7 separate regions of the Homo sapiens genome follow, and regions 1, 3, 4, 5, 6 and 7 are each linked to region 2. Evidence: promoter capture Hi-C in 16 types of primary human blood cells and fetal thymus (Javierre and others, 2016). All regions are on one chromosome and are shown on one strand. The core of a region is centred on a gene start or on the middle of the fragment in contact, and the rest is flanking DNA. Distances in the headings are between cores, read along the strand shown. Region 1 overlaps RBM33 (RNA binding motif protein 33). Region 2 holds the start of PAXIP1-AS2 (PAXIP1 antisense RNA 2). Region 3 has its middle 28 kb from the start of SHH. Region 4 overlaps RBM33 (RNA binding motif protein 33). Region 5 overlaps RBM33 (RNA binding motif protein 33). Region 6 overlaps RBM33 (RNA binding motif protein 33). Region 7 overlaps RBM33 (RNA binding motif protein 33).

Evidence for each region. The method cuts DNA at HindIII sites, captures the fragments that hold promoters and counts their contacts. A CHiCAGO score of 5 or more calls a contact.
Region 1: a contact is called between a fragment that was not itself captured here and the fragment with the promoter of PAXIP1-AS2 in region 2, in 10 of 17 cell types (fetal thymus, activated CD4 T cells, M1 macrophages and 7 more). The highest score is 12.3, in fetal thymus.
Region 3: a contact is called between a fragment that was not itself captured here and the fragment with the promoter of PAXIP1-AS2 in region 2, in 3 of 17 cell types (fetal thymus, M0 macrophages and activated CD4 T cells). The highest score is 8.4, in fetal thymus.
Region 4: a fragment that was not itself captured here is called in contact with the fragment with the promoter of PAXIP1-AS2 in region 2 in 4 of 17 cell types (total CD8 T cells, naive CD8 T cells, monocytes and 1 more); the score reaches 6.9 in total CD8 T cells.
Region 5: a fragment that was not itself captured here is called in contact with the fragment with the promoter of PAXIP1-AS2 in region 2 in 4 of 17 cell types (non-activated CD4 T cells, naive CD8 T cells, total CD4 T cells and 1 more); the score reaches 7.1 in non-activated CD4 T cells.
Region 6: a fragment that was not itself captured here is called in contact with the fragment with the promoter of PAXIP1-AS2 in region 2 in 7 of 17 cell types (total B cells, fetal thymus, naive CD8 T cells and 4 more); the score reaches 12.7 in total B cells.
Region 7: a fragment that was not itself captured here is called in contact with the fragment with the promoter of PAXIP1-AS2 in region 2 in 7 of 17 cell types (naive CD4 T cells, fetal thymus, activated CD4 T cells and 4 more); the score reaches 8.7 in naive CD4 T cells.

What each region holds. Positions count from the first base shown.
Region 1 is chr7:155,746,802-155,750,338 of GRCh38, forward strand. The region is part of intron 14 of RBM33 (RNA binding motif protein 33); the gene reads left to right. Among named protein-coding and RNA genes, the nearest start is that of SHH, 64 kb to the right of the region's middle. The HindIII fragment of the contact is 295 bases long and covers 2,094-2,388 here.
Region 2 is chr7:154,925,889-154,929,766 of GRCh38, forward strand. PAXIP1-AS2 (PAXIP1 antisense RNA 2) reads left to right here and starts at 2,629. Exons shown (of 8, transcript NR_024476.1): 1 at 2,629-2,879; 2 at 3,068-3,136. RefSeq lists enhancers at 2,710-2,769, 2,790-2,889, 3,040-3,259. The HindIII fragment of the contact is 7,419 bases long and covers 1,304-3,878 here.
Region 3 is chr7:155,782,906-155,786,870 of GRCh38, forward strand. No RefSeq gene overlaps it. Among named protein-coding and RNA genes, the nearest start is that of SHH, 28 kb to the right of the region's middle. RefSeq lists an enhancer at 1-167 and a silencer at 3,256-3,456. The HindIII fragment of the contact is 927 bases long and covers 1,318-2,244 here.
Region 4 is chr7:155,692,266-155,696,183 of GRCh38, forward strand. The region is part of intron 5 of RBM33 (RNA binding motif protein 33); the gene reads left to right. Among named protein-coding and RNA genes, the nearest start is that of RBM33, 50 kb to the left of the region's middle. The HindIII fragment of the contact is 1,641 bases long and covers 507-2,147 here.
Region 5 is chr7:155,669,203-155,672,805 of GRCh38, forward strand. The region is part of intron 2 of RBM33 (RNA binding motif protein 33); the gene reads left to right. Among named protein-coding and RNA genes, the nearest start is that of RBM33, 26 kb to the left of the region's middle. The HindIII fragment of the contact is 2,057 bases long and covers 973-3,029 here.
Region 6 is chr7:155,727,923-155,731,600 of GRCh38, forward strand. All of the region lies in intron 9 of RBM33 (RNA binding motif protein 33), which reads left to right. Among named protein-coding and RNA genes, the nearest start is that of SHH, 83 kb to the right of the region's middle. RefSeq lists an enhancer at 103-603. The HindIII fragment of the contact is 4,593 bases long and covers 1-3,678 here.
Region 7 is chr7:155,709,642-155,713,265 of GRCh38, forward strand. It overlaps RBM33 (RNA binding motif protein 33), which reads left to right. Exons shown (of 18, transcript NM_053043.3): 8 at 1,562-1,814. Among named protein-coding and RNA genes, the nearest start is that of RBM33, 67 kb to the left of the region's middle. The HindIII fragment of the contact is 1,306 bases long and covers 1,379-2,684 here.

The DNA.
Region 1 (3,537 bases), core at 991-3,490, 820 kb after region 2:
AGTTGTAAACATAGGCTTCTAGAGTAAACCAGCTAGCAACGATTGCTTTAAAAGACACAAAAAATGTATACAGTAAAAAAAGAAAATAACTTATCTCTTTTAGTCCATTTCAGGATGGTAGGACATGTGATCATGTGAAGGAGAACGTTACTTCGTCTCCTTGCTTGTGCTTAAGAATAACTCATTTTGTTAGTTGGTTAATTAGCTGAGATTTAGTGCTTTTATTTCTAGGTTTGTAGAACAAAACTTTGACTTTTTCATGTGCTATAAGAAAATCTTTATAAAATACTGTGATTAGAAGTTCCATATGTAGACTATCCAGTAGGATAGTCTTTATCTGAATCTGTTTTCTCACATCTATTCGTTGTAATTAGAAATGTTGAGAAGAATGGTGTTACATAAAATTGTTTTCATATTATATGAATTTGTTACCTTTAGGTGAGAACTCAAGCACTCAGTTTCTTCAGTGTTTATGGCCCTTTTGCTTTTGACCTTGTTTTTAAGTGTACTGTGTTAATCAGTGTCTCATTCTTTTACTTGTGTTACAGACTTTTTTTAAGATGAGATGTTGGCCATTGTTGGGAATTAGGCCTTTTCCCATAGCAACCAGAACTGGTGCTGTTTGTTACAATGGCCGATGTAGAGGGCTGCATGTACTCTGCACTGGCAGGCTGGGAAGTGAAGGGTCCAGTTTCTACCATCAAAGAGCAGCTTTTACACTCATAAACAGCTTTCCTTTAAAAGAATTTTATCTACATGAATTTTTACTCTTTTTCTCCAATGGAAAAAATTTATATCAGACCTAATTCCAAAATCATGCTAATTTTACAATAAATAGGAAAAACAAAGGAATTTTTCATGAAAATAGCTGTCAAACCAGTACTTTGGAACAGCTCTTTATCTTTTACTTCTTAAGTGTCAACTAGCCCACATGTTCGTATCTTAGGGTTTACTCAGTCCCCTCCAATAGCACATTGGCACTTTTGACCTAGCAGGGAAGATGTCTTGTTCGTATTTCTCTGAACCAGAACAAATAGGATTTGCCTAATGGCATTGTTTTTTGTTTTTTTGTGGGTGAGGACTATTTTTGAGAGAACATATTCCTAATGGTGGTTAATTGCAAATTGTGCTTATTTCAGACAATGCAAAAAGGAAGCATTTATTTTGGCTTGTGTTTCTGTTCCTGGCTGCTGGAGAGGCATTCTCTGCATATGGGGGCTGTGGTCTTAATGCTCAGGGATGTTTCCTGCCTATGAAAATCTTCAGGAGCCGAGGGCTGAGCAGACCTTGGCTGACAGGAGCTTGGCATCTGGGGAGGATTGACTTGTGCATGGCACCCATACAGGATATTATTATCTACATCTTAGTTTTACGATTACTTACTTAATGAAAACATTTTATTGTTGGTTCGCGTTTCCCATTTTTTCTAACCTATACTATATCCTAACCTAAATTACCTCCTTCCCTTTTTTCTAATTTAACTAGTGTAACTAAATCTAATGCATTTAATTCAATTATTCTTTGCATTCAGCAGTCTCCTATTCTTCACGTCTCTAGACAGGATAGCAAACTATCTTTGCATAGTGCCATTCAAGAACTTGTGCTCTGGTGGGTGATTGCAGTTGAAATATGTGTCCACAGGATTGTTCACATGTTTATGAAAGCACAGTTTTCTTGCCATTCTTACTATGATATACAATTTAATTAGGTTTCTGTGAGTGTACTCATGTCTGTGAGGCAATTGTGAATCAAATGGAGTTTTCTTCTATATTTTCCATATGTCATTACTTATAATGAAATAATTTATCGTTGGGTTTTATTAAACTGGGTTTTTTGAAAGGTGAGAGAGGCTGAGTCTTAAGACCATAGGTTTTTGTAGTCTGCCCTGTGGTTAATTATATCGCCTTTCAGGTGATTTTCCTTGGTCCTTGTCATTGTAAGAGAATGTCTAGTCCTTTCTTGGTGGTCCCCTTTGTGGCTGCTGCTGCAGTATGCGTGTGCATAGGGAACATTTTCGAAAAGAGATGAGCAGCATGATTCCTGGTATTGTTTCTTACACGATTGTGTTGACTAGGGTCAACGTCTTGGTTTAAAGCTTGAAAAGTGACTATGCAGATTCAAGGGCTATTGTTGGCATTGCGTTTTGCCGTTGGCTGCTCTGAAATTTCTTGCTGTATAGAGATTGGAGCCTTTCTCTAGGACTGAGAGCTCACCTGTGCACGCAGTCATGTGATGGGGTAAAACAGTGTGGCTTTGGGTGCAGAAAGACTCCTGTTTGAATAGTTGTCTGTTCTTTGGGACCCCGAACAATCATTTCATTTTTCTGAACTTTAATTTCCAATCTGCAAGTGGGGTTAGTAAGTCTGCTGTGAGGCATCAGTAAATGAAAGCTTCTGGTACACAGAAGGCATTTCATAACTTCCCATTTTCTTTGTAGAATGCTTCTAAGGCCCCTTTTAGAAATAAATTATGTGATTTTTATGCCAGATAATAGTAGTGGCTATTATTTATTGAGTGTTTAGCATGTACTCACAACATCCTTCTGAGGCGAGTGCGTTGAATCTCAAAGAGGCTACGTAACCAGCCTAGGGCCGCCGCACACCTACTAGGTGGTAAAGCTGGGCTTCCACCTGTGGGTTAGTGCTGAATCTTACGCTCTTCACCCTTGTCTATGATAGTTGTCTATTTTATCTGCTGTGTTTTTCATGGTGTTATTTGTTTCTTGATTGGGGATAATATTCTACTATTAGCAGTCTAGATTGATTCGGAAAATGCTTAATGGGGGCTCCTAGGATAATGATGATGATGATGATGATGGTTAGGTTTCATTTTGGTTGCCAGTGCAACAGACTGATAGTGACTGCCTGGAACAATAGGCTGAGAAGGATTTGATACATGAAAACGCAGCCTGGATGGTAAGTAGCCTCAGCTTTGAATATAGGCCTGGCGAGTGGCTGGGGTTCCATCATCCCGGTTCCAGAACCTGGGCTGCTGGCCCAGGAAAGGGAGTGCATATTGTGTCCTGGTTAAGAATAGCCATCACTTGCTATGTGCTGTGTGAGTCTATCCTTGAACATTTCTGTGTGAATCAAATTAAGTCACATTTTGCATTTAAAACTTTGAAGGGAAATATTAGGGGAATTTGAAATGGAAAGAGATCTTTTGTTATGAGGCTAATCAATTTCTGTGTACGTGAATTTCCATTTTTTTCCCACTCATTTTACTGTCTGGATTTGCTAGGTGAGATTACAAAAGGAACAAATTAATGCTGCTTATAAGTAGTGTTAGCAGCAAATACTGCTAAAATTTTATGTGCCTTCCTGACTATTAAGTAAATAGTTCATCTGTAGAATTATATTTCATGGAATGGTTCTCTTTTAATTACTTAGAATATAGAAATATTCTCCATTTGCCCATTTCTCAGAAAGCTATTTTTCAGTGTTTAAGAAACCAAAAGAACAACCTTGTTACATTATAATTTTGTTCATAACCTATACATAATTCCCAGAAAAACAATTCAAGTAATAACAGCAAATA
Region 2 (3,878 bases), core at 1,379-3,878:
GGGTATTGTCTTGTATTTTGAAGATGTTTCCATGGGTATATTTAAATATTTATTGGAGTAGCTGAGATGATAGTTTCTATATCAATGGAGGACACTGACCACAATGGATCAAGTACTGTCTTTAGTACATTTTGTAATTCTTCATTAAGCAATAATTCATTGTCTTTCATGGCAATATGGATTGCAATTGGATTAGATTTTGAAAATTTTATTAAAATATCTGTTGTGTCTCAAAGTTGAGTTTTATAATCTAATTTTAAATATATTTCCTTCCTTTGAGAGAAAGAAATGTGGGTATCACATAATTCTAAGCAGTTTCTTCCTGTTGAATGGATGGGGTCTGATGGAACAAAGAGGAGGGCATGAGTTCCTTGTAACGAACACTGTTGAAAGGTTACAGGCTGAGATTGGTATGCCAATACAGGAGGATTGTGATGCCCACCATTTGAATTCTTTGTTTACTGCAAGGAATGGGACCTTGTACCAAGATGGGATTAATTCCAGATAATGTGGCTCCAGTGTCAATAAGTGCTTGTGTTAGTTCTCCATTTATAATAATTTTTATTTCTCCCAGTGTTAGTAAGGAGGAAATGAAAGGCCCCTTTAAGTTCCTTGGAGCACCCCTGTTTTCTTTTCTGCCTCCACTGGTTAACATTCTTTCCTTTTTCATTTTTGGCAACTCTTTTGAAAGTAATCATGCTTTTTGCAAAAATTGCAAAGTGGAAGGTTAGGTCCATTAGGGAGTTTCTAGGGGTATTGTGAAGGCCAAAATTGTGTGAATAGTTGTTTTAATTGTAAATTCATAATTGTATTAGCCTCGCTCTTTTGTTTGGCTTCCCTCTCTCTTTCTTCTTCAGTTAAGGTATCAGATAACCGGTCAATGAGACTGACCAAATCATGAGTATCAGAAGTGGCCCAACTTTGTCTTTTCATTGTTAGTTCCAATTCATCTAACTCATTTGTTAAACTGGAGTCGAGTATCATTTCGATGATTAGCACAGCTTTCTTCGGATAAAACTAAATATTCTTTAAAATTTTTTCCACAGCCCTCAAAGTATATTACTGACTCATCTGAATTTTGTTGATATTGTATTTTGTTCCAGTTGACTACTCTGAAAAACTGAGGAGATAGCCTGATGCAAAGCCTTTGCTGTTCTTCAAGCCTGTCTATGGTCCTCTTCTGAACATTTATGAAGATCCCTAACAGATTTCTCCAGTGAGCTTTGTCTAGCCAGCCTTTAGCTTTAATTTTTGCTACTAACATGTGAATCTGTTGCTAGAAGTCAGAATAACTAGGGTCATAAGCTTGGATATTTAATTCAAATTTCCTAGCAAAACCAATAGGAACCTGGTGAAGATCAAGGAATTCTTTTAACTATGCCTGTAAGTTTGATCATGATTGATAAAGCAGGTTCCCCTCTACCAGATGCTGGATGAAATGGAGCCAAACCAGTGGGAGCAGGAGGAGGGGCAGGAGGAGGAGGAGGAGAAGGTCAATCAGGGCTGGGTAGTTCTGACAAGGAGGCTTAGAGAGACAGGGGAGCAGGGAGAGAAGAAGACATTTCAGTGTTTTTTAAAATTCAGTAATGGTTTTAGAGTGCTTTTTATTTTCTTCCTCTAAGGGAAGAATTCTGTCAAAACCTCTTTTGGATGCTTCTGGGTGCCATTGGAAGTAACTCTCTTAATTATTTTATTTGATTCCATAGCTGGCTTTTTAAAATTGTGCATATAAATAAACTAATCTAGCTATTTCAAAGATAATTCTCTTTGATCATTGTAATTTAGGATCTTCTTAGGTCAAATAAGACCATTTCTCCAACTATCGACAGGAGGTGGCGCCATAAGTCTTGTACATAAACCCCGCTGGAGTTTCCAAAGGTGCATTGCTTAATGAGGGCTTGGTTATAGATGGATAATTGCTCATAATTTGGATTCTCTTTTAAAATGCCCAAAGGCTAAAAGGGAAAAGTGTTTGGGGTCCAGTGTGCTGCTTAGTAGGGATTATTCCTGGAGGTATCACCTACAAGTAGCTTCTTCCCTCTTACCTACCTCAGAGAAACCCAGACATTTCTGGGAGTTCAAGGCACTGGGTGACGAACCCCTTGTGTGTTGTGTGCCCCGGGGGTTAAGCAGCTCTCCCTGTGAGTTCTTCTCTGGGGTTTGTTGTGAGCTTCCACACCCTTGTGTTACCTCCATTGCCTAAGGTGCCTTTCAGCTGGGAGAAAGAGTCCTTTTTGTCTTCAGCTTATCACGTCCTCATTCCAACCTTTTACAAATTTTGGGTGACTCAGGAAGAAACTTTAAATCTCAATGTTAACCAAGATCCAAAGCCTGGCTGGTTTAAAGCCACAAATTTGGCTTAAGCCACAAACATTCACTTTCTCCTTTTACAAAGAAAACTGCTTTCTCTTTAACCAAATGTCAAATGAGAGAAAAGGTTACAAACTTGAGCAAGTAAAAAAATGTCCAATGAGAGAAAAGGTTACAAACTTGAGCAAGTAAAATGTCCAATGAGAGAAAAGGTTACAAAAGAGCAAGTAAGACGAACGAAAACTTAACCTAATAGAAAAGTGAAACCACAAACCTGCCAATAGCAGAATCTTTAGAGAAATGACGCGAAACTCCTGCCTTAAAGCCCTAAATGGCGGCTTCAATATCAGTCCCACTGAGCATGAAATTCATTTACTTAAATAAAATCTGAATCTCAGCCCAAACCTGGGAGATTCAAAACCTGAGAGCGGTCTTACCAAAGACGCCCGTATGTCTGGTGAAGTCAGTTGGATGCAAGCAGTTTGTGCTGGTACCAGGGCCCCAGCTACTGATGAAGTGGCAGGAGTCCACAGAAGCCTACTTCGAAGTTCCCGGGGCTTCCAGGGGAGGTGAGAACACAAGTGATGGGAGAGCCTGGGGAGGGACTGTCTGGTGAGTAAAGGTTGTGCTGCTCTGTGGATGAAATGTCTCTGAGGTCGTAAACATCTCAGAGCCGCCTTCGGGAGAACGGGTGATAGTCATCTGGGCTGATGTCACCTCCAGTGTCCTCTCCTGTGATCTGTGTTAATCCTCCCAGATTGACGAGATTCCTGGGGAGGCGATTCATGACAGCTGAGTTCCTTTTGGAGGATCCGTCTTCAGGCAGGTAAGGGGAGCTCAGAGGAAACCTCTGCCTGCATCCGCTGATTCCCAAGTGCCCTCAGCTCACAGGGATCAGCACTCCCAAGTGCCATGGGGGTGGCATTTCCTGAACTCCTTCAAAGCAATAACAACAGGCTGGGCGTGGTGGCTTACGCCTGTAATCCCAGCACTTTAGGAGGCTGAAGTGTGAGGATTGCTTGAAGCCAGGAGTTCAAGACCAGCCTGGGCAACATAGGGAAACCCTGTCTCTACAAAGAATTAAAAGAAAACTTAGCCAGGAATGGCAGTGCACACATGTGGCCCCGCCTACTCGGGAGACTGAGGTGGGAGGAGTGCTTGAGCCAGGTGGTTGAGGCTGCAGGGAGCTGTGATTGCACCACTGCACTCCAGCCTGGGCAACAGAGTGAGACTCTATCTCAAAACAAACAAACAACAACAACAAAAGTGAAACAATAACAACAACTTTTACAAAACGGACATTTGGGATCTACATGCCACACTCCTAAATGCGTCTCTTAAGCAACAGGTGTCACAGTCTTAAACCTTGTCCTTACCCTCTTCATTCTAGGCACCTGTTTCATTCCAGGTAGGGCTTCCTCCTGGTTTCCTAACACAGCGGGTTGAGATGAACAGCAGAGAAGGACACTGCACACCTCTGCAGGGTCTCCCCTCTGGCCCACCAGCCCTCCCTTCTCCAGCAGTGAAGACCTCACTATGTCATCCAGGCAGGAATAATATAGACAGAA
Region 3 (3,965 bases), core at 531-3,030, 860 kb after region 2:
GTTGTGTGTTTCATTTGTGTGATTTCATACCAAAAACTGAACTACATTGTATGTAATTTGGAAGCCATGTTAATAAAACCTTGCAGTTTCCACTCTGGTTCCGTAACGCAAACGGGGGGCCTTCCACAAGCAGGGTGGCCTGCAGTGGGCAGACGGTGGCTGCTTTCAAAGATACATTTTATCACCCTGTTTTCCCCGTTCTCGTAAGGATGAAAAGGAAAGTGCCTTAGTTTGGACCTAAGTAAGGAAGAAAGAAAGCAAGAGAAGAGGCAAATTTGGGAAATTGAAATGGAGGAGGAAGCAACAGGTAACAAAAGCGAAATGTGTTGGGTGAATTTCTCAAATCCGATTTAATTGAATTTTTAAGCCTAAGTCATAATCTGAAAATGCCATGTGATTAGAGCCCAAAGCAGTTTTCTTCCTCTTTAATCCATAGTTCAAGAATAAGTCATTCCTTGTTTTTAAAACCTGTACTTTGGGTAATGGGATCTCTACAGAACATGGGCAAAAAACGCCTTGACATTTCAGGGAGAAAATGGGGCTTTCTTTGAATTAAGGGTACACTCAAGAGTGGTAGATCCTTTGAAGAAGGTATTGTTATTTCCCATAGTTGCCCCCTGAGCAGTGCCTGGCATGCTGGAGGTCTTGGTGTGTATTTATTTAGTGCAACCAATTACGTGAGGCAGTGTATTTGTGGCAGGCCCAGGGGTGTCCCCGTCCCAGACACAGGAGGTTTGGAAGTGGTTCAGGTGTGTGGCACTGATCATTCCTGTTGAAACATGGCCGCTGAGTCCTGAAATCTCACCCTTGGTTTCTGCCTGTGTCACCGGGAGTGCAGTGGTGCAATCACAGCTCAATGTAGCCCTGATTTCCTGCGCTCAGCTGATCCTCCCACCTCAGCTTCCCCAGTGGCTGGGACCACAGGTGTGCACCACCATGCTCAGCTAATTTTTAATATTTTTAGTAGAGACAGGGTTTCACCATGTTGTCCAGTTTGGTCTTGAACTCCTGGCCCCAAATGATCTGCCTGTCTTCGCCACCCAAAGTGCTTGGATTACAGGTGTGAGCCACCGTGTGCGGCCAGGTCCTTTTCTTATTCGAACATGTATTTGCATGTTTTGAAAGAGTGACAGTCACGTCTGAAGGGAAAAGTAAGTGATAAAAGAGTTCTGTAGGAAACACACAGTACTGACAATTGGTGGCTCTAGGAACAGAAGCACAGAGCCATGTGTTGTACACCTTGAGGTGCAGCTCGTTGCTGTGTGCTTAAAAGAAATGAGAAGCACGGCAGTTTTGAAGCTTCACGCTCAAAAAGGAAGCTTTCTTGCTGACCTTTGGTGTTGCCTGCAGGCCGCAGCGAGAGGGCAGAGGTCCTTGCGGCTCTTCTCTAGGGTCCGACGTAGATCCAGACAGGAAAGTCAGTGGGGCATTCTGGACATGTCGTCGCACCAGGCTGCAGAGCTGGACACTGAGGAAACCCCTCCAGAAAGAAAGCCCTACCTCCCGACCCACTGCAGGTGACTAGAGGACTGGGCAGATGCCCTTCAGACCAGACGGAGAGGAGCACTTCTCTGATTCCAAGTAACAACAGCTGCTGTTGAGGAGGTGTAATGAAAACCGCACCTAAGCTCTTCACCCAGCTTCGAAAGCTAGCCTGGATGTTTTCAATCTCAGACGCTAGTCGTGTTTTTTCTCTAAAATTGACAATGGAGAGAATTTTTTCTCACCATCAAGGGAGAGCATCTGTGGATGGTGTCTGAAGAATGATACCATGTTTTGTTCTCCTTATTTTTTTGGAGACAGGGTCTTTCTTTCTCTGTCACCCAGGCTGGAATGCAGTGGTGCATTCCTGACTCACTGCAGACTTGACCTCCTGGGCTCAAGAGAACCTCCCCTCTCAGCCTCCCGAGTAGCTAGGATTACAGGCGTGCACCACCACACCTGGCTAATTTTTGTATTTTTTGTAGAGATGGGGTTTCACCACATTGCCCAGGCTGGTCTTGAACTCCTGAGCTCAAGCGATCCGCCTGCCTTGGCCTCCCAAAGGGCTGGGATGACAGGCGTGTGCCTTCCAGTGCTGCTCCTGGCTTCGGCTTCTTCCCTGGCCCTTACATTGCCAATGTGCACCTCAGTCACCAAAGGCAGGCTTCGCCTCAGCTTCCCAGGATGGCCGTGCCCCTGAGATGATGGCACCAGCCTTGCCAGGGAGCCTCTGATGACAGCCGTTCAGATGATGTCATGTGAAGCTTCCTGAAATTTTCTCTCCCATTAGTCTTTAATCAAGGGAAAACACTTATTTAACAAAATTAATAGATTAAAATCCCAGTCCTTAGAAAAAAAAATCAGTGAAATAGACAAACCGCTAGCTAATTAAGAAAAAAGAATGTACAAATAAAAAGAAACACAAGAATTGCTATTGATAAAAAGGACTTTTTTAAAATTGTAGAACGTAACATCAAATTATGTAAAACATGTAGCATCAAAATTATACATCAATATATATGATTTTAACTGTCAGTGTCCAGTTCTGTTTTATTACATATGTTCACACTGCTGTACAGCTGTCCCAACCATCCATCTCCAGAACCTTTTCCTCTTACAGAACTGACACTCTGTCCCCATGAAACACAAACTCCCATCCCCTTCCTGAGCCCCCAGCACCCCCCGCCCCCACTCCACTTTCTGCCTCTGAATTTGACGACAATAAGTGCCTCATGTGGTTGGGATCCTATGGTGCTTATCCTTTTGTGACTGGCCTGGTTCACTTGGCACGATGTCCTCAAGGTCCATCATGTGACAGCCTGTGTCAGGATTCCCTTCCTTTTCAAGGCTGAGTCATATTCCATTATAAACACACAGTGCATTTGTTACCCATTCATCCATCAGTGGACACGGGATGCTTGACGATGACGAATGCTGTTACGAACATGAGTGTGCACACGTCTTTTTAAGAGCCTGCTTCCAATTCTTCTGTGTCTGTATGGGGGCGTGGAAATGCTGGGTCGCATGGCAGTTCTATGTTTAATTTTTGAGAAACTGTCATCCTCTTTTCCACCGCAGCCACAACATTTGACATCCCCACCAACAGTGCTCAAGGGTTTCTTCCATTTCGCCACATCTTCACCAACATGTGCTATTTTATGTTTCTTTGTTTTTGTGTGTGTCATAGCCACCCTAATGAGTGTGAGGGGGTGTCTCATTGTGATTTGGAGTTACATTTCCCTAATGGTTAGTGAGGTTGAACATCTTCTCATATGCTTGTGGGTCATTTGTTTATCTTCTGTGGAGAAACACCTATTCAAGTTCGTTGCCCATAAAAGGGATTTTGTAAGCAATAAAAGACTACTTTGTAGATCTTTTTGCAGATAATTTAAAAACCTATGTGATATGGACAATTTCTTAGGATAAACAGTGTATCAGTATCAACTGCTGTGGAGATCTAAAGCTCATACCAGTCAATCTCTACAGAAAAAAATAAAATGATCAAAAAACTAGGCATGCAGAAAGGCCCACATGTTACAGAGGAATTCTACTAAATGTTTGGAGACCAGATATAACTTATGCTGCATAAATTGTTCCAAAGCATTTAAAATGAGAAAATTTCCACATCCTTTTAATGAAGCAAATATATCGTTTATATCTATACCTGGAAGAGATAGCACAGAAAAGATGACCAACCGATAATGTTTATGAATATTGATGCAAAAAAATCCTAAATAAAATACTGGTGAACCAAATACTACATTAAGAAACACAAGGCCGCGCGCGGTGGTTCACGTCTGTAATCCCAGCACTTTGAGAGGCTGAGGCAGGCGCATCACTTGAGGTCAGGAGTTTGAGACCAGCTTATCCAATGTGGAGAAACCCTGTCTCTGCTAAAAAAAAAAAAAAAAAATAAGAAGAAAATTTTTTTAAAAATTAGCCGGGTGTGGTGGCAGGCACCTGTAATCCCAGCTACTGGGAAG
Region 4 (3,918 bases), core at 77-2,576, 770 kb after region 2:
TCAGATGTAGTCTGATTCACTTGAGGGAGCGTTTTGGTAACATTGTCAGGAGACAGTTTTCTGAGGGTCCTTCATTTAGCTGCAGGTTTTGTGAGCAAAGCGAGCAAATCACTGCCTGTCCTTTGTTCCGGAATATCTTTTAGAGGATTCTGGTGTAGCAGACAGCTACAGATGCAGTGTCTTCCTCTGGAGTCAAGGACAGGTTTGCTTACTCCCCATTGTGACACATTCAGGGTTTCCTGTGCAGAGAAGTCCTTCCTGTAACACAACCTCCTATGTGTGCAGGGTCACCTGGCTCTCTTCACACGGCCCAGTTGGGAGTGGGGCTTCTTGGAGCTGGTGCAGAATGCTACTGCTAGTGATACAGATAACATTGTCCTAGTCTCCTTATTTCTGACGAAGAGTCTTAGCTTTCTTACAGCTTCCGTGAAATGGTGGCCAACTAACTTGTTAGCTTGCAAGTAGAGTAAAATCTTATACTCTTCACTGTTCTTGACAGTATTAAAAGCTTTAAAGCTCCTGTCCTTGGACTCAACAATTCCACTTTAACAAATTTATCCAAAAGAATTAATCTGTGTTCAAAGGTATATGTATCAAGTATTTGTTTGCAGCATTGAAAATAAATGGAACCAATGTATAAAAGAGTAAATCATGGCCTAACCTTAAAGTGTAATGCAGTATACCAAGTGTTGTCTTAGTTCTGTTTGACTTGGAAAGGTGCTCGTGATGCATTAAGTGTAAAGAGCAAGATGATAGAATTCTTCCCTTCAGCTCCCCCTGTAACTGCAAATCTAAATATGTGTGTGTAATTCTCAAAAAAAACAAAAAGTCTATGTAGTTACAGATGGAAATGGTAATAATGATTACTACTAAATGGTGGAATTATTTAGTCTTTGTATTCCAATATTTTCTGATTTAAAAATTTTTTTACTGTAAGCGAGAAATATTCTTTTTCCTTTTTAAATATGAAAAGACAGGGAAACATAAGGTGGTTAAACGCCGACCCTTGAATTTGGAAGGCAAAGAGCTAGAAGTTGCATCTGTTTCACTCTTGTGATTTTTTTTTCTTTTTTTTTTTCTTTTTTTGCTGTTAACACTCTCACATGAAACTTCCTAAGGGTTGTTTTCAGTATGAATCTTTCTAGCAGAAAGTAAGAGCTCATCCATATTAAGTATTTTGTCTTTTTTATACCATCTGCTAGATGTATTATTTACTTTTTACTTTTAAACTGTGTATCTCATAATTTAATTTTAAATTTACTGTTGAAAAATATTTTTAAAAGGTATTCGTATATTTACTTTTTTTATCCTTTCCTTGATGGTTTTAGTTTACTTTGTTTATGTTGCTTGCTTTTGTGATGATGGCAGGTTCTTTGTGATGCTCTTGATCTTAGGACTTTCAGTTGTCCTTCCTGGAGGCTGGTGATGTGCTGGTCTTTTCCACTAGCAATAAATATTTGGGGCTTTTTTTTTTCCCGGCTGCATTGTAGAATATTAGTCAATGAGATAATTATTGGGAACTCATGCGCATAATACTGTTTTAAGTGCTGAGAAGTAGAAGTTGCTAGTATTTCAACTTTTGTAGGATTTGGTTTTGGAGGGCTTGTGATCCATCTTTTTTAGAAGTCTAAATAAACTGTGTAGTCCTCAGGGAGGAGTACCATTTTTAATGTGCCACATATCCGTCTGTTTTGGTGTCTTCCTAGTTCCTGGACTCCCTTTCCTAAATATCTGCATTGTTGCCGAGCATCCTGTTGTGCCCCATCTGTGTTGCCGCACGCTTTGGTCTGCATTGCTTAAGACTGGCAGAAAGGGTGTTGCGGTTTTCCAGATGACTTCATTCTAGGAGCTCTGTTAAGGTCTATATTAGAATCTTAATTATAGAACTTAAAAGCAATTAATTAATTTTAATTGAAAAGCCTATTTTAGGTGACTCCTTTTATTTAACTAATGTTCTTCCTTGGTTCATATAGAGAAATCATTATATTTGAAACAAGTTAGATCTAATTATAAAGACTAAATATCAGTCTTTTATAGTTAATGCGGCCACATTAGTGCTAGTTATGCTATTGTCTTCTAACATAGTTATTTAAAAAGACTTGCCATTTTCACATAGTTTTGGCATGTGTAGAGGAAGAAATGAGAGAAGCTTTAAAAACATATTTGCACCACTTAAAATACTTGTGAAATGGTGATAATGTTTACACTTAGAGATAAGCATAGATGTAAAGTGTACAGTAAGTTTTGATACATGTATACATCCAAGTTACCATCCCTTGGTTGATAAGGAACAGTTCCATTACACAGAATGTTTTTGTCTGTTCAGTCCTGACTCCTCAGAGTAAAGCGTTCTTATTTCTATACCTAGATTGGCATTTCCTAGTCTGGAACATCACCTAAATGTAGTCATATAGTGTGTGTGCGCTCCTGTGTCTTGCTTCTGTTGCTCGGCACGTTTTTGAGATTCATCCAAGTAGTTGTGTGTATTAATAATTTATTCCATTTTATGGATGTACCCCATTTGTTCATTCTCCCAATGATAGACATTTGGGTTGTTTCCAGTTTTTTTGTTATTATGAATAAAGCTACTAAAAGGATCATATTACCCATCTTTTTGTGGATGTATGTTTTTGTTTCTCTTGGTTATTAACAAGTAGTGGAATTGCTGAGACGGTCTAGAGGTATGTTTACTTTTATAACAAACCACTATTGGTTTTCCAAAGTGGCTGTACCATTTGGCACTCCCACCGGTACTGTGGGGGAGTACCTCATTGTTCCTCATCATTTAATGTTGCCAATCTCTTGATTTAATCCTTCTAGTGAGTGTGTCATCGTGGTTTTAGTTTCCATTTGTCTGACCTCTAGTGATGTTGAGCACCATTCCATGTGCGATTGGACTTCCGTATATCTTCTTTGCTTCTAGTTTTAGTCTCTCACTCAAAAAAAAGTGGGTTGTCTTTTTATTTGTTTCTATATATGCTATATATATCCTATATATTTTTCATAGGATATGCTGTCTATACATGTATTTTCTACATGTATCATCTCTATGGAGAATATGTATGCATACATACTGCATATATTCTAGGTAGAGATAGTTGTCTGTATATTCTGGGTATCATTCCATTGGCAGATAATTACATATTACATATTCGTATTATAAATATTTTCTCTGAGTTTGTGGCTTGTGTTTTCATTTTCTTTTTTTCTTTGAGACAGAGTCTCACTCTGGCGCCCAGGCTGGAGTGCAGTGGCATGATCTCGGCTCACTGCACCCTCTGCCTCCTGGGTTCATGTGATTCTCCTGCCTCAGCCTCCTGAGTAGCTGGGATTACAGGCACGTACCACCACACCTGGCTAATTTTTTATATTTTTGGTAGAGACAGGGTTTCACCACGTTGGCCAAGCTGGTCTTGAACTCCTGACCTCAAGTGATCTGCCCGCCTTGGCCTCCCAAAGTGCCGGGATTATAGGCGTGAGCTACCATGCCTGGCCTCATTTTCTTAAATATGTCTTTTCATGAGCAGAAAATTTTAATTTTGTTGAAGTATGAAGAATTTTGTGACCTAAGAAATCTTTGTTTACTCCAAAGTTGTTATCTTGTTTTCTTCTGGACACTTTACAGTATTAATTTTAGTTAAGATTATGATCTATCTCAATATGTGCGCACGTGTGTGTGTGTGTGTGGTATGAGATTCCGTTTTTTCCATACGTTTTTCTAATTGTTCACCACTATTTGTTGTAATGACTTTCCTTTCCCTTTGGAGTGCCACAGTGCTTGTCCTGACAATAAAATTAGGTTTTAGTCTCTTTCTGGTTCTCTTTTCTGTTGTTTCTGTTGTTTCTGTTGTTTTTGTATCCCTATATCAGTACTATACAGTCTTGATTACTGTAACATGAAAGCATGTTGTGTAAATC
Region 5 (3,603 bases), core at 751-3,250, 740 kb after region 2:
GTAAGTTCTTCTGCCATGCTGTACTGGTAGTGGTGTTTGGAAGAATATGATGTCATTGCTGAACCAACACCTGAAATTGTGTTTTATTTATTTTTTTTAAAGATATGAATGTCTCATGTGTCCAGGCAAGAAAGAGATACCCACTCAAAAAGTTTTTGTTTGTTTTTGTTTTTGTTTTTTTGAGACAGAGTCTGCTCTGGAGTGCAGTGGTGCGATATCAGCTCACTGCAACCTCTACCTCCCAGGTTCAAGCGATTCTCATGCCTCAGTCTCCCGAGTAGCCGGGATTACAGGCATGTGCCACCGTGCCTGGCTAATATTTATATTTTTAGTAGAGAAGGGGTTTCGCCGTGTTGGCCAGGCTGGTCTTGAACTCCTGGTCTCAGGTGATCCAACCACCTCAGCTTCCCAAAGTGTTGAGATTACGGTGTGAATCATCATGCCTGGCCCAAAAAGTTTTAACTGAAGAAATTTAATGACGGGTCTATTTACAGGCCAGGGTTAAAGAACTAATGAGTTCATTCCCATCCAGGGAGTACCAGTTCCTGCCCCGGCCTTGTGGGAAGTGGTGTCCTAGGGCCCAGTGAAGGCTGTTGGGGGAGGGATACTGTAGTCTCTATTTCTTCAGGTGAGAGGGGAGGGGCCGGTCTTTCTCCTCCTACTTGGTGACGTTATGTTGGTGCGTCCCAATGGGCGAATCCATCTGGAAGCCAGAGGTTAGGACCGGCTGTGCCAGCTGCTCCTGGAGGACGCAATCCAGCCACAGAGCAGGCAGGTAAGACGGAGAGTGGACTAGAGTGGGGAGGACCCAGAGACTACAGCCCCACTTACAGTGGTCAAGTTCACTTCTGGTTTTGAAAGGCTGTAGCCAAGTGGCTGACAACAAATACTTGTTTCCTGAAAAACGTCTTTGAGGATAACTTCTGTTTCTAAGTAAAAATATACTTGCTTTCAAAGAGCTCATTGTCTGTAAGCTTTAATAAGAAATGCCTGCCAGAAAGATTGTTCGTACTCAAGTAGTGATTACTGGTGGAATCTTTAGGGAACTCTAGAATTGAACACAGGAAGCCTCTTCATCAGCCCAGTGCTTGTTTGATTTCCTAGAACACTTACTGCTGCTGCCAGCCAGAGTGACTGCTCACCCCTTTGAAACTGCCAGATGGAGACCAGTCATTTCCATTAGTTCATTGTTGTTTTTGCCAAGAGTGGATGTAGTTTTACATATGTAATAAATTTATTCCTTATGTGTACATCCTTTGTGAGGGTCCAGCTTTACGATGACAAGAAGAAAAGTACATGTAGTTTCTGTGGGGTGTGTGCATAGTAGTTAGGACTTGGATTCTCTCACTGGTGTCACCACTTCCTAGCTGGATGACCTTGGGCAAATTAGCATCTTAGTGTCTCTGTTTTCACATTTTGAAAATGGCAACGGTGTGTCTACCTGAGAGGGGTATTATGTCAATGAAAAGCTCGTGTGTGTGGAACATGTCAAGTGGTGCCTGGCACAGAAGTGCATTGAGCGGATGCTGTGGATCGCTGGGGCTGCTGTTTATACTTGCTGTTGTTCTGTACTGAATCCCACTGTCCCCCATCCTGTTTCTCATTAGTCATGAAACAAGTACTAGTCTTCATTTTCTCTACTCATTTTATAGTTGATACACTTACTTATCTTTTTAAAAATGTTTTCGTTGAGAAAAAATAAGTAGTTATTAAAGGTTGATTTATTTCCATGTACTTGTCAGCAAGAGGCACAGATACTTTCTAGATTTTTGCTTGTATAATTACTAATGCCTGTTTTTATGACTTTGTCAGTTTGCCCTGGGAAACTGGCATCACATTCCATTTTTAGTTACTTAAGGTGATGGTATAGACGAGTGCCTGTCTTTAAAAGAGGTGCTTGTGTGTTTTTGGTTATCTGGAATCAAATTTTCAAATGGGGTTATTGTAAATATTGTTGACTAGACAGCATTGTTTTCTCCCTGCCTCTGGAGGGTAGTTGGAACACTGAAGATACAAAAATTGTATTTGATAGATGATAGTGGTTTTAAAATGTTGGAAGAAGCTATATGTTATTCTCTTATAACTATCCTATAGGAGTTTGTGAAAGATTGTTTTTCAAGGGCTGTTAAGTTCTTGTCCTGCATCTGTCACTGCTGTGTGACTTTAGGCAAGTTATTTCATGTCCTATCCTTGTTTTCTTTATCTGTAAAATGTAATATAGGACTTACTGGAGGATAACTTAAAATAACGAATAAAGTCTTTAGTGCATGAATTAAATGATTTGTCAGGTTGTTTTTAGTTCTAAAAGGCGTTATATAGAAACATGCATTTCATTATAACTCCATATATGCATTCCCGGAGATTATAGTATTCTGCAAAGTGGCATGCTAAAAATAAACATGATTTTTTGGTAAAATAATGGTTTTGCTGATTTCTCAATACCTATAGAATTTTGTAACCAGAGCACCTATTAAAAATAAAGCAGCAATTCTAATAACAATATCGATGCAGTTAAATCTCCATGAGTATTGGCACCTAGAGTTACAGTCCATCTAATTGTATTTCCTCTTTGTATATTTCTGTATGTTGACTTTTAATGATATTTGCTTCCAAGAGATTGATTTCCCCAGAATTAAAAACATGATCTAGTGGTAGCCATTTTTATCAACTAAAAAAATCTTGTTTCTAATAAATGCAGTGGAAAATGTCTTCAGCTTTTTTATTTGCTAAGGGTTTCTGTTTTAGTTGTAAAAATAGGGAGAAAGCCGGCTTCTAATCATTTAAAACAGAAATATGCTAGAAAAAATTGCAAATCACTGATACGACATCCATGTTATACAAAGCTAATTTCCCTTAGTTACTGTGATTTGATTTTATGTTCTCGTTCGTTTTTAAAATTTATTTTTTTTTTCAGTTTCTTTTGGTTTGATGAATGTCAAACGGTCTCTAGTGGTTTTGGTTTTTATCTTCCTAATCAATTATATTGTGCATCTTTTCCTTCTTCATTAAGGTTTTTAAAGATAGGAGAAAGCTTAGATATGACTTACTATATTACAGTTTCTGCTTTTACTGATTATTCAACAGACCCAAAGAGATTAAGATCCCATATTAAGGTACAAAACTAAGATTAGAAGTATAGTGAGGCACTACCTATAGCAAAGCCTCCCCATACTTAAAAAGATAAAATGTTCTCTGTGCATTTGAAAATACATTTTTATTATTAATAAAGAAAGAGGAAAGCATAGCAAACTTAATGTAAAAGTATCCAAGCTGGCCGGGCATGGTGGCTCATGCCTGTAATCCCAACACTTTGGGAGGCCAAGGCAGGCGGATCATGAGGTCAGGAGTTCGAGACCAGCCTGGCCAACATGGTGAAATCCCGTCTCTACTAAAGATACACAAAATTAGCCGGGCATAATGTAATCCCAGCTACTTGGGAGGCTGAGGCAGGAGAATTGCTTGAGCCTGGGAGGCAGAGGTTGCAGTCAGCTGAGATTGCACCATTGTACTCCATCCTGGGCAACACGGTGAGGCTTTGTCTCAAAAAAAAAAAAAAAAAAAAAGGTACCTGAGCTGTAGAGTTCTTGGTAAATTTCCAAGTGA
Region 6 (3,678 bases), core at 756-3,255, 800 kb after region 2:
CTGGCTAATTTTTTTTTGTACTTTTTTTGTAGAGATAGGGTTTCATCGTGTTGCCTAGGCTGGTCTCGAACTCCTGGGCTCAAGCAGTCAGCCCACCTTGGGGTCCCAAAGTGCTAAGATTAGAGGTGTGAGGCACTGTCCCCAGCTGAGGCAACCCTTTTCACTCTGGTATATTTCACGGATCAGTCATTGAATGTTTTTTCTGAGTGGTGTCTTGCATTATCTGCCCTCTTTTCTTATCCTGCTACCACTTGGCTGATATGCGGGCATTTGTCATTTTGGAAAATGCGCCGTCATGACTTCTTCCTGATTGGACTGGATTTATCTACCATTCAGTTGCTCTCTTTCCCTGGGCCAGCCTCTCCACCTGTAAAGGTCAGTGGGTACTTCAGGTTCTTTGGGTCCTGTACACTCGATGACATAATGTTACCTCCCTCCTCACTGCCCTTCACCCAGCTGCTTGAGGAGACAGCACCTTGCCTGTAGCGTGTACATACTCCAGGCTACACTTGCAAATCCTTCTTTCTCCGTTCTTACTCTATTTAACTAAATTCCAAGGTCAGAAATTGCCTTGTTTACTCACCCTGAGTAAACGGTTTCTTTCTAAATCTTAGATAGCTCTTTGGTCTTACCTCTTTAATGCAGCTCTTGTAGATTGATCAGGTGAGTACTGATAATTTCTTTTACTTATTAAAGCCTGCCATGAAATTTCCATGACTGTCTGACTTTTGACTTGATGTAGTACTTACTGGTTTTCTTGACTCTGAAACACACGTAGACTTGCACAATTACACTTACATATGTGATGATAAAACATATGATTAGGGACTGATTAGGGAATGTGAGAAAAATCCCTCCCCATTTGCTGTTCATACCAAGGAATTCACAGTGTGCTCTGCAGGTAGGCAGCCTGGGTTTGAATTCAAGTTCTGCCACTTTCTAACCGTATACTAAGTGAAGGTTATTTAAATGGTCAGAAGATTTCTGTGAGCATAATACCTACCTTGTAGGGTTGTGATAAGGATTAAATGAGACAGCATGTGTATTAGTCTGTTTTCATACTGCTATAAAGAATACCCAAGACTGGGTAATTTATAAAGAAAAAAGGTTTAATTGACTCACAGTTCCGCATGGCTGGAGAGGCCTCAGGAAACTTACAATCATGACAGGAGGCAAAGGGGGAGCAAGCACCTTCTTCACGTGGTGGCAGGAGAGAGAGCAAAGTGGGGCAAGTGCCACTTTTAAACCATCAGATCTTGTGAAAACTCACATACCATTATGAGAACAGCGTGGGGGAAACTGCCCCCATGATCCAGTCACCACCCACCAGGTCCCTCCCTCCACTCGTGGGGATTACAGTTCGAGATGAGATTTGGGTGGGGATGCAGAGCCAAACCCTATCAGCATGGAAGTTCTGGCCTCCCACCAGTGATCCTCACTCTTCTCCCAGCTGCAGGGTGAAGAAGCCAGTCAGCATGGTCCTTCTCTAATGATATTATATAGTTAGAATACAAGTTAAAATAATTTCTCTTGGCCAGATGCAGTGACTCACACCTGTAAACCCAGTGATTTGGGAGGCCAAGGTGGGAGGATCCCTTGAGGCCAGGAGTTTCAGACTAGCCTGGGTAACATAGTGAGACCCCATCTCTACAAAAAATTTAAAAATTAGCCAGATATGGTGGCTCATGCCTGTAGTCCCGGGTTCTCTGGAGGCTGAGGCAAGAGGATCACTTGAGCCCAGGAGTTTGAGGATGCAGTGAGCTGTGATCGCACCGCTATACTCCAGTCTGTGTGACAAAGCAAGACCCTGTCTCTTTAACAAAAAAAAAAAAAAAAAAATTCTGTCATACATGTAAGAACTCAGTTCTGTTAATTTTTCTGTCTCTAAACCAGTGATCACCCCAGATCTTGGCTTCTGTTTGGTCCTTGTGCACTGTATGTGTTTCACATCTGCTCAGCTTAAGAGCCTCAGGCAGTTCACTGCCCGAGGTCTAGGTTAGTACATCCTAACCTTTGTTACTTCCTTCCTTCATTCAGCCATTCAGCACCTCTCCCTGTGCTTTGTGGGCAGCTGGTTTTACAGCATGCCGCAGTACTTCCAGGTTGAGAATGTGAGGCTCGGGGAATACCTTGCTATTACAAACAGGCATTTCATTCATCCATTAAATATTTATGACCGCCTGTGTGCCAGGCACTGGGCCAAGTATGGAAACACATTGATGTGTAAGACAGGCCTGGTCTCAGCTCTCACGGACCCGGCAGTTGAAGGGCAGAGAGAAGTGGAAGTGGATTGGAGACATTCAAGAGACAGAGTTTCTAGGACTTGCTGGTACTTTATGAGGGATTTCTGATTTGAACTCAGAAATAAGAATGCAAGCAGGGAATCTATACTGATTTGGTTTTTACCATATATGGAAACATGGAAATATGACAGAAGATATGGAAATATGTCAGAAGCTATATATCGTATTTACAGTCTGGGCTGCTGTCTACAAAAAGGTGTAAAAATGATAACGACATGTATGGTGAACTTTTGTTATTTGCTAGGTACTGTCCTAAGGACTTTCCTGCCCCTGTGAGGTAGGTACTAATTGCTGTTTTGTAGATGAGCAAACTGAGGCCCAGACAGATTCAGTCATGAGCTCAAGGCTGTAGCTGGTAAGTGGCTGGGATGGAGACAGGGCTGGGAGAGCTGTCAGGTTAGATGATGGGTGCTGCTTCTCAGCCTGAGCACCTACAGGATCACTGTAAGTTAGAATAAAGTTCTGCTTAAACATTAGTGATGGATTTTAAAGGCTTTTATTTTCCACTGAGTGTGGAAAAACTATCATGAGAGAATTTTCGGGGCTTTGTTACGTACCAGTAACATTCAGATGCCAGTGACTGTGCATTTAGACAGCATGTAAATAGTCAGTTAAAGGAAAGAAAGTTTTGGGAAGAGATGAAAATCACAATATTAAAGTTCCAGGGAAATCTTCCAGGGAATCTGATAGTGCTTAGAGACCTAAGAGGTGATGTACCTAGTTCTCAGGTAGCTTGGAATTTTATGGAAAACTAAGTTTGTGGACTAAAGTCTTTGAGTTTCTTCTAATTCAGTAACTCTTTCCTTTTAGAAAAGGATGAAAGAGCTAAAGACAGAGTCCTTTTCCCTGATCACAACCTGTGGCAAAGTAAAAAATCGAACCTTGGTTGACTCTCCGCTCAGAGTGGAGTGGAGGCCAGTCTACTTTCCCAGTTACATTTTGCCTTATCTATAATGAGAAAAATCTTTTTGAGGACTTGAAATTAGCTGCCTGATGGAAGGTAGGAAAGAAGGTTTATAAAGAGTCCTGCTGCAGCAGCCGCATGGCCAGTGCTGTGGTGCCCACCTTATCCGAGGGGCGTGTACTGGAAGACCCCCAGTAGAGACCATGGTTTTTCCTGTACATATATACCTAGGATAAAGTTTAATTTACAAATTAGGCACAATAAGAGATGAACAGCAATAGCTAATCATACAATAAAACAGTTATTACTCTTGCATTTTGGGGCCATTATTAAGTAAAATATGAGTTACTTGAATGCAAGCTCTGCAGTACTGTGACAGTCAATCTAATAACCAAGACGTTGACCAAGTGACTAATGGGCTAGCAGGCAGGGAGTGTCTTCAGCATGGATCCTCTGGACAAAGGTATGATT
Region 7 (3,624 bases), core at 782-3,281, 780 kb after region 2:
TGTGGTCACTCTCAGTTCAATTAAAATTTAACTTGGGTGTCCCTGTGTCTGTTAGTGTGCTGTCTGTGGGATACAATGGTGAGTAAGATAGACAAGATCCCTACTCTCATGGGCAAATGTGCACAGATGTGATGAGTTAAGGAGGGGGAAACATACTGCATTCTGGGAGCATGTGTGCTAGTGGATGTGAGCTGGTACCAGAATCTTTTGAAACGTCTTCTGTGAGGAAGGATAGGTGGGCCAAAGCCATTCACAGATTAGTTTTAGAATTCTACTCATTGTTCCTCTGAGATGTCTTCTTGCTCTTTGTCAGACTATGGCTTTTCCATTGATTCATCTCTCACCATTCCCTATTAGATGGTCTCCTTCCGTCTTCTTTACCCTCGTTCATCTCACACTGCTGTGAATGATCATTTTCCTACCAAAGAGATCATTCGTGATCCCTTATTATACGTGTTGTCTCTGTGGCATAGTAATGGATCATTTACTTGGAATTTAGAAGCCCTCCGTAATTTGGCATCATCTCAGGGAAAATGCTTGTTAAATTAGACAACTGAATAAGTAGTGGTCTACTGCTAATTAGCTGTGTCGTCAGTTTGGTTAGTGATTAAAAGCAAAACCTGTGGAATCAGATGGCCTGAATTCCAGTTCCGGCTTTTCTCCTTTCCAGCTACTTGATCTTGTAAAAGGAGGTCAGTAAATAGGACCTAGTTTATAGGATTGTGGGGAGCTAGGTCAGCTGACTTTCTCTACTGACCGTATAGTAGGAACTTAAAATGTGGGGAAGATTTAGTCCACGGCAGCTGTTGCAGTTGTTGATTTCTTCCTCTCTAGTGACTGTTTGATAAAATAACCACCCTCGAATTGAGATCTCTGATCACTTTGAGTGTGTAATTTTCTTACCTTCTTTCCTGCCTTCTTCCCTGGTCTCCTGATTTTACTAAGCAGGTGGGTCTGTGCTGCTTCTGCTTTTTTCTGGGTATCTGTCCCTCACTCTGCCTTGCACCTCTCTCTTCTTCATCACCGAGTTCAGGTGTCACCCTCTCAGAGAAGCTCCCTCCCAGCCTCTCCTGGAGGCTCTTTGTGGCCCTGTCCTGTTCTCAGGCCTCAGTTCTGGAGCAGGGTAACTGGTGCACATCTCCTGCCTTGCTTACCAGAGTTCCTGGAGGGGGATGCAAGGCTGCTACAGGGAGGGCTGTGGCAGCTGCTCTTCTGTCCCTGGCACAGGGCTTTGCTCAGTGTGGGCAGTTCAATTCCCTGAACTGAATTTTTTTTTTTTTTTTCAAAATTCACACTGGGTGCTTTGGGGCTGTTTTCCCTCTTGCGTGGGGATTGACTCAATTGTGAGACTGTAGCCCTCATTGTGAAGAAGTAGAGAAGCTTCTTTATCCTGCTGTTTTGATACAAGTTGTTACTACAGACTTCTTACATTGTAACTTAAAAAATGCAATCAGTGTAAATTTGTAACACATCAGCATTCTTTTAAATGTTGATTTCGGTGAACTTTTGTTTTTTTTTTTGTGATTTGTAGACTCATTCTCCAAGGTTAATTCCTCCACAGCCCCAGGCTCCCCCTCCACCGCCACCGCCGCCTCAGCAGCAGCCGATCAGAAGCCTGTTCCAGCCGCAGCCGCTGCAGCCGCTGCTTCCGGTGCAGCACCCGCACCACCCATCCCCGCCTCAGGGAATGCACATGCCTCCCCAGCTAGAGACCCCAAGGATGATGATGACCCCGCCACCCGTGACTCCACAGCAGCCCAAGAACATACACATCAACCCGCACTTCAAAGGGACGGTGGTCACGCCTGTTCAAGGTCTGTGTTTCCTTTTACTATTGTAAAGCATAGATGGCCCCAGCTTCCAATGGTTTGACTTAGGATTTTTCCACTGACGCGTTTTTGACTTCATGAGTGTGTGAAAGCAGTATGCGTTCAGAAGAAATCATCGTTCGAATGTTGAGATTTGATCTCTCCTGGGGTAGCAACATGCATCCCAAAACTCCCTCGAAGCTGGGCAGGGGGAGCTGCGGTTCCCAGCCCCGATGATTTTGCCAACTGTGCAATGATGTGAGTGTTCTGAGCTGAAGGTAGGTGAGGCTAAGCTATGATGTTTCATTGGTTGGGCATATTAAATGCATTTTGACTAAGGGTCTTTTCCACTAACGATAGCCTTATTGGGATGTAACCCCATCCTATGTTGAGGAGCATCTGTTATGTTATAGATTACTGTGCATCTGAAGGCATTTATTAGTTTATTGCACTGAAGCCGTCTCTGCGGCAAAATAGTTTTCACATTCAAATTTGTAAGATTGAGTTTTCCTTGGCTCTTCCCCATTCATTTAGATTTTAGTTTGATGGGTCAAGTATATTTCTTTAAAAATGTGTATCTCTTATTGTATAATTGAGTGGAAAGTGCTGAGAGTACAGTCTGAATGCAAAGAATACACTAGAGACCGCTATTGGAATGCCTGAACTGTGACACTTTGTAAGTCTCCCGGTGAGGATGTTTGCAGTGGTGAGTGTCCCTCTTTGGTTCCAGGCAGCATGCCCCCCTTCAATTCCAGTGTCAGCTGGTGGAGAGGGGACACACCATCTTTTAGTTGTTGTAATCAAATAAATACAGATCTGATTATTACTGAAACATGTTCCTTAAGCTAGGAAACGGTTTTTGAGCAGTTTATACGAAGCTTTAACTTCATGTACCTGTGAACACACACATTTATTGAGCTACTACTCTATTTTTGGCATTTGAGTTATATTGACGAACAAACCAGACAAAGCTTTCTTCAACCATGATATTACTTTCTATCAGACAGTCTTATTATTGTTTATTAGCAGTAAACATAAGTATTTTATGTGGCATGTTAGAAGATGAAAATGCAGTGAGAAATTGAGCAGGATGCGGGGAAGGGATGGGTTGTATCTTAAATGGGGTGATCAGGGTGAACTTCACTGAGCAGGAAAGAGTTGAGGGATATCTGTAAGTTAGCAATGTGGCTGTTCAGGGAAGAAGATTGCAGGCAGAGTGATCAGCAAGTATAAGGGGGCTTCCTCCAGGAGAGACCCTGCCTTGTGTGTTTGAGTAGCCAAAAGGAGACCAGCGTGACTTTTGTGGAGTGATCAAAGCAGAGAAGAAATGCAGAACCTGGGTACCGTGGGGCCGTGGGGCCATCCAGCCATTCTCAGGACTTTGGCAGGGAGTGAAATGGGCAGGGATTAGAGGGGTTTGAGCAGAGGAATGACGTGACCTTGTGTATGTTTTAGAAGATTCCTCTTGCTGCCGTGTTGAGAGGAGACTGTCGGGTGGCAAGGGTGGAAGCTGGTGTCTAGCTAGGAGGTGACAGATGATCCTGGTGCAAACCAGTGTGGTAGCAGGGAGAGTGCAGAGAGCTCAGAGCTGGATGAAGTAGGAAGATGGGGCCGATGGGATTTGCTGATGGATTGGATGAGTGTGAGAGGGAGAGAGGAGGTAAGAGTGATGCCCAGGTGACCAGAGCATTTAGAGGGCTGGTCTGGTTGCCATCACCTGAGGTGGGGAGATCAAAAGTTCTGTTTTGGGTGCATTAAATTTGAGATGCCAACTAGCCATGTGAGTGGAGGGGTCTAGTAGGCAGTTGGATGAGAA